2 separate regions of the Homo sapiens genome follow, and region 2 is linked to region 1. Evidence: promoter capture Hi-C in human tissues and cell types (Jung and others, 2019). All regions are on one chromosome and are shown on one strand. Each heading gives the region's core, a stretch centred on a gene start or on the middle of the fragment in contact. The rest is flanking DNA. Distances are from core to core; before and after follow the strand shown.

Region 1 (3,359 bases), core at 519-3,018:
GCTCTGCTAGAGAGAAGTGGATCTTAAGGTGAGCAGAGTTGGGGCCACTGCACATAAGATTGAGCTTAACTTCATGAGAAGCCAAGGTTTAATGTGACACTGGAATCTCATGGTAGCCATCCTAGAGTGGATTCTCAAGGAGATTCACTGTGGTATCAAAGGGCCCTTACTGTGATGGGTCTCCTGACAAGACCCATGAAGAAACATAAAATTGACCATCTCTTTGACCCAGTTTTCCTGCTTATGAAAGTGGCACCCCAGGGGACAGTTTCAAAATGGGGGGGAGGAGTGTCAGGGAAGTTATCTGTATAAAGATCGATGTTTGTTAAACCATACTAAAAGATGCTTATAGCCACTTCATTCCCTATAGTGAAATAATGATGTACATTAAGCTGATGAACTATTAGGCAACAATTAAAAATAACTAGGAAGCTCGGTTTTAGAAATGTTAAAGAAAGAAGAACCAAATGGTGTGTATACACTGATTACACATTCCATGGAAACCTGTGCAGATCATAAGTTGGACACAGAGATACAAAGCCTTTTCTTTTTAAGGAAAAGGTGATTATTTTTGGAAAAGCAATAAAACCTGGGTTCCCAGCAAAGACAGTGGCACAGTTACCAGACTCACTTGCAACCTGGGAGACCTGGGCTGGGAGCAAGGTCCACTCTTGTATTTTTTGATTTTCAAAAACCGTGAACAACTATGGCTGTGCATGGAGAGGCTGGTGTGGGGTGGGGTGCGGGGAGGTGCTCTGTTCAACCGCAGGGAATAATGACCAAAAAAAAAAAGGCGGGGGGGAGGGGGAAGGAATGCAGTACACCCCACAGAAAATGCTTAAAACCTGGCCAAACTGTTACTAAGCATGTGAGCTTTCAGACTTAGGGAGAATGTGGCAATTAGAAATGTAGTGGAGGGCCGGGTGCAGTGGCTCACACCCGTCATCCCAGCACTTTGGGAGGATGAGGCAGATAGATCATCTGAGGTCAGGAGCTCGAGACCAGCCTGGCCAACATGGGTGAAACCCCATTTCTACTAAAAATACAAAAATTAGCTGGACGTGGTGGTGCATGCCTGTAATCCCAGCTACTCGGGAGGCTGAGGCAGGAGAATCACTTGAACCCGGGGAGTGGAGGTTGCAGTGAGCCACTGCACTCCAGCCTAGGCAGCAGAGCGGGACTCCATCTCCAAAAATAAATAAATAAATAAATAAATAACAAAAACAAAAGAAATACAGTGGAGAAAGAAGCTGTTTCAATTGAGGGTGGAACAGATGCAATATTTCTGGCCACTCCTACCACTGGACAAACACACACTTACTATGAGTGACTATATAGATGCAGCCTGGGATTTACTAAGAAACACCATAACAGAACATCGATAGGCCAGGTGACAGCTTTTCACTACAACACCTTACTTCCTTTGAACATTTGGATTTTCTAGTTTTCCTAGACAATGACCTACACCCATCATATCATTCCTGGCCTCTCGCCCCCAGTACACACACTTTAAACATGAAGATAATGTCCACAGCCCACCGGGGCAAAACACCTCACTCAGCCAGCTAACAGGGGCAGGCAGGATGACTGCAGTAGTTTCATCTACTCTCATTTTTTCAGTGGGTCAATGAATTCCTTTCAGTGATCATCACTCACCTTAGCCATGTAGTTTTTTATAGGAACTGCTTGCCGAATAACCGACTTAGTTCAATTTACTGACTTAAAAGGACACAGTATGGCATGGGCTACTCCAGGTTGTGTTAACTGTAAAGACCAGTACCCATCCCCGTTCCAAATTCTAAACTCTACTACCTCATCTGCATGTCACAACAAGGTCAGCTGAAAACCTCCCTGTGGGCTGCACTTGAGCTTTCACAGGGAATAAACGACATCACAAGTCTGGCAAATGTATGGCTAAACGCAGCAGGAATCTCATGTATATGGATCTGAATGTTCTTTGGGAATTCTGCAGCAAATAAAATGATTTATTGAGCCAATTCAAACGAACTCTATCAAAACACACAAAGGCCTAGAGGAGAGATTACAATGAACGTAAATAATTCAAGGCAATTTTTGATCTAAAGCATTTTGCTTAGCTCTACAAAGGCATGAATGAGGTGTGGTCACGTTTTTGTATAGGAGGTTTTGCCACTACTTGCTCCCAAGTTAAACATGGCCACAGAGTATTGTGAATGTTTAATGTATGCCTGGGAAAAATTTATTGGCCAATACTTTAGTTACTAATGGGAGGATTATGTATAGTCGGACCATAAAGCGTGTAAAAGCAGATCACTTAGAGCCGCTCTGTCCAGGACAGCAGCACTAGATGCATGGGCCCTTTGAGCACCTGAAATAAGGTTAGCATGACTAAGGAACTGGGTTTTATTTTTTCAAACTTGATGTTCAATTCAGTTACTGAAAAACTTTACTATGTTTAACTATCTTTGGAACAACTTGGATATGAATTTGTGTTTTTCAACTGCATATTTTACAAAATCTAAATACAGATCAAGTATTCCTGATGAAACGTTAGCATCCAAATTATGCTATAACCAGATACACAGTGAGTTTTGAATTCTTAGTGTGAAGAATAATTTTAGATCTCACTAATAATTTGCATATATTGAGTACATATTGAAATATTTTGGATATGCTGAGTTAAATAAAATATGTTATAATTTCACTTTTTAAATATGGTTGCTAGAAAATTGAAAATGACACTCTGGGCTTATTTTTTTTTTTTTAATTTTGAGACGGAGTTTCACTCGTTGCCCAGGCTGAAGTGCAATGGCGCAATCTCAGCTCACGGCAACCTCCACCTCCCAGGCTCCAGCGATTCTCCTGCCTCAGCCTCCCAAGTAGCTGGGATTACAGGCATGCGCCACAGATTTATTTTTTATTTCTGTTGGAGTGTGCTGTTTTAAGAGTATGGAGCTGACATTTAAGAATTCTAATGCCATCTGCTGGATACACTGGTACAAGACAGGCCCGTGTCACAGTAAGACTGTGATGGTGTGTCAATACTCAAAGAACTGGATCTGAAACAGAAAAGGGCTCACAAAACACTGAACTAAATTATACTGTTAAGAGGGGATTATAAATAGGTTTATTTAGTTTTTGAAATCCCAGAGAAAATGTGACTCACAGTTATCTTCAGATAACAGTGACCATGAGCCAACGAGCATAACTGCTTCGCCGTCCACCCGGGTGCTGCAGGCATGGATGTGGTCACCTGGGATGGACCCTTTGTGATGCTGGCTCCCACACCTACAGCTCTTCCTGCTGCCTGCCTTGTCTCTGTCTCCCTTCTCCTTTCTACTCCACAGTCAGCCTCAAGTCCTTCTGCTCTGGGTTACACA
Region 2 (3,465 bases), core at 5-2,504, 37 kb before region 1:
TGGAACCCAACGATGACCTAGCTGCTTTTCTGTATCTTCTATTTTCTCACAACCACCTTGTGGTAGGTAGTATTATCTTCCTCTCACAGATGAGTAGGGTCCCCCTGGGTCTAATGGGTTTCCTGAGACGTGGAACTTTCAGTATAAAACCTAAAAAGTCCCAGGCAAACCAGGATGAGTTGGTCACCCTAGATGAGGAATCCAAAGTGCAGAAAATTATCTGCCCCATGTCACATCACAAGGAAGTGGCTAGAGCCAGGATTTGATCTCTGAGGCCAGCAATATTTCTAATGCTATCAGGCTGCTCCCACTTCTGACCAATCAAGGAGTACAGGTAATGTCGCCTTGTTCATTTTCTAGTAAAGAGGCCCCAAGAAGCCCTGGTCCTGACTAAGGAGGACATGGTGTGGGCAGCTACTGTCCTGTGTGCAGGAATTTCACAAGCAGTACTCCAGACACAGAAGCATTTCAGAATGAAAGCAGAAAGAAAAGGAAATGAAGAAAAATGAAGATTCTCAGGGACCTGTGGGAGGCCATCAAGCATACCAACATATGAATAATAGGAGTCCCAGAAGGAGAGACAAGAGAAATTAGGGTAGAAGGAATATCTAAAGAAATAATGGCTGAAAACTCCCCAAATTTGATGAAAGACAATAATATACATGTTCAAGAAGCTTAGCAAACTCCAAGTAGGATAAATTCAAAGATATTCTCATTGAGACACATTATAATTCAACTGTCAAAAGACAGATACAAAGAGGGAATCTTGAAAGCAGCAAGAAAAAAGAGATTAATCTTATATAAGAGAACTTCAATAAGATTAATGGCTGATTTCTCATCAGAAACCATGGGGTTAAGAAGGCAGCAATATGAAATATCTAAAGACCTCGAAGGAAAAAAATAAAACTTTGACCAACAATTCTATATCAAGCAAAATTATTCTTCAAAAATGAAGAAATTAAAATATTCCCAGATAAACAAATATTGAGGAAGTTAATCACTAGTAGACCTGCCCTGCAAAAAAATGCTGAAGGGAATCCTTCAGGCTGAAATGAAAGGACACTAGACAGTGACTCAAATTCATACAAAGAAAAAAGAACACTGGTAAAGTTAACTATATAAGTAAATATAAAATCCAGTATTGTATTTTCAGCATATAATTTTTCTTTTTTTCCTATATGATTTGAAAGATAAATGCATAAAACAGTAATTGTAAACCTATGTTAATGGGCACACAATGTATCTATAAAACATTATTCTCTGATAACAACATAAAGGGGGAGGGATACAGCTATATAGGAGCAGAGTTTTATATATTATTGTGACTAAGTTATTAATTCAAACTAGTGTGTTAACTGTAATACACAGGTAAATTAGTTTCCTAGGGCTATCATAACAAAGTACGATAAACTGGATGGCTAAAAGCAACATAAATTTATAATCTTACAGTTCCAGAGGCTGAACGTCCAAGATCAAGGTGTCAACAGGGTTATGCTTTGGAAGGCTCTGGGGAAGAATCCTTCCTTGCCCCTTGTAGTTTCTGGTGGTTGCCAGAAATCTTTGGTATTCTTTGGATTGTACATGCATCATTTCAATCTCTGCCTCAGTCACCACATAGCTTTCTTCTGTGTGTGTGTGTGTGTGTGTGTGTGTGTGTGTGCGCGCGCGCGTGTGTGTGCGTGTGTGTGTCTGTTTTCTCTTCTTATAAGGACACCAGTCATTGCAGTAGGGCCCACCCCAAGAATATGACTGCATCTTAAAAATTACATCTTCAGAGCCCCTATTTCCAAATGTGGTAATATTCTGAGGTTCCATGTGGTTACAAATTTTGAGAGACACCATTTAACCCATTATACCAAGACAACCCTAGGGAAATAACTTAAAAATATGGAGAAAAGGAAATGAGAAGTAAATCAAAATGGCATGCTACAAAAAGTCAGACACAAAAAGTGGAAGTAATGAAGGAACTGAGAAACAAAGATGGTATACGACATATAGAAAACAAATAGAAAAACTAAAGAATTAAGTCCTTCTGTATCAGCAATTTAAACAGAAATAGATTAAACTCTCTAATCAAAAAGGCCAGAGCTGAGGCATGAGAATTGCTTGAGCCCAGGAGGTGGAGGTTGCAACGAGCCAAGATTGCACCACTGCACTCCAGCCTGGGCAATAGAGCGAGACTCAGTCTCAAAAAAAAAAAAAAAAAAAAAAAAAAGCTGGCAGGATAAATTTTTAAAAACCAAAACAATTCAACCATATGCCGTGTCTAAGAGACTCACTTTAGATCCAAAGACACAACTTGGTTGAAAGTGAAATGATAGAAAAAGATATTCTATGCAAATTGTAACCAAAAGACAGTAGGGGTGAATATACTAAAACCATGCAAAATAGATGTTAAGTTAAACATTTTTACAAGTGACAAAGAAGGACATTACATATTGAGAAAAGGGTGAATGCCTTAAGAATATGTAACAATTATAGAGATATACACACCTAATAACAGAGCCTCAATATATATAAATTTAAAAACTGACAGAATTAAAGGAAGAAATAGTTCTACAAAAATAGTTGGAGACTTCACTACCTCATGTTCAATAATGGATAGAACAACTAGACAGAAGATCAATAAAGAAATAGAGGACTTAGGCCGCTTGCAGTAGCTCACGCCTGCAATCCCAGCACTTTGGGAGGCCAAGGCGGATGGATCACCTGAGTTCAGGAGTTTTGAGACCAGCCTGGCCAACATGGTGAAACCCCATCTCCACTAAAAATACAAAAAAGTTTAGCCAGGCATGGTGGTGCACACCTGTAATCCCAGCTACTCAGGAGGCTGAGGCAGGAGAATCACTTGAACTCGGGAGGCAGAGGTTGCAGCCAGCCAAGATTGCGCCACTGCACCCCAGTCTGGGTGACACAGTGAGATTCCACCTCAAAAAAAAAAAAAAGAAAAAGAAAGAAAGAAATAGAGGACTTGAACAACACTGCAAACCAACTAGAACTAACAGAAACATACAGAATCCCACCCAACAACAGCAGAACACACATTCTTCTCACATTCACATGGATCATTCTCCAGTACAGACAATATGTTAGGCCACAAAACAGGTCTTAATAAATTTTAAAAGATTAAACCATAGAAAGTATCTCCTTTGGTCACAATGGAATGAAACTAGAAATCACTAACAAAAGAAAATAGGGAAAATTCACAAATACATGAAAATTAACAACACACAAACAACAGGTGGATAAAGAAATCACAAGGGAAATTATAAAATACTTTGAAATGAATGAAAACAAAACACAACATGTCAAAACTTATGGAAGAAAGGCAAAGCAACACTCAGAAAGAAATTTATAGCTGTAAATACCAACATTAAATGAAAAGAAAGATCTCAAATCAATAACCCAATTTTCTACCTTAAGGAACTAGAAAAAGAAGGGCAAACTAAAGCAAAGCTAGCAGAT

Evidence for each region. The method cuts DNA at HindIII sites, captures the fragments that hold promoters and counts their contacts. A contact is called where the count stands out against the background at its distance.
Region 2: a fragment that was not itself captured here is called in contact with the fragment with the promoter of C3orf20 in region 1 in 1 of the 25 tissues and cell types used here (ovary).

What each region holds. Positions count from the first base shown.
Region 1 is chr3:14,673,550-14,676,908 of GRCh38, reverse strand. C3orf20 (chromosome 3 open reading frame 20) reads right to left here and starts at 1,768. Exons shown (of 17, transcript NM_032137.5): 1 at 1,657-1,768. RefSeq lists an enhancer at 3,207-3,256. The HindIII fragment of the contact is 10,656 bases long and covers 1-3,359 here.
Region 2 is chr3:14,710,378-14,713,842 of GRCh38, reverse strand. All of the region lies in intron 7 of C3orf20 (chromosome 3 open reading frame 20), which reads right to left. Among named protein-coding and RNA genes, the nearest start is that of C3orf20, 37 kb to the right of the region's middle. The HindIII fragment of the contact is 7,145 bases long and covers 1-3,465 here.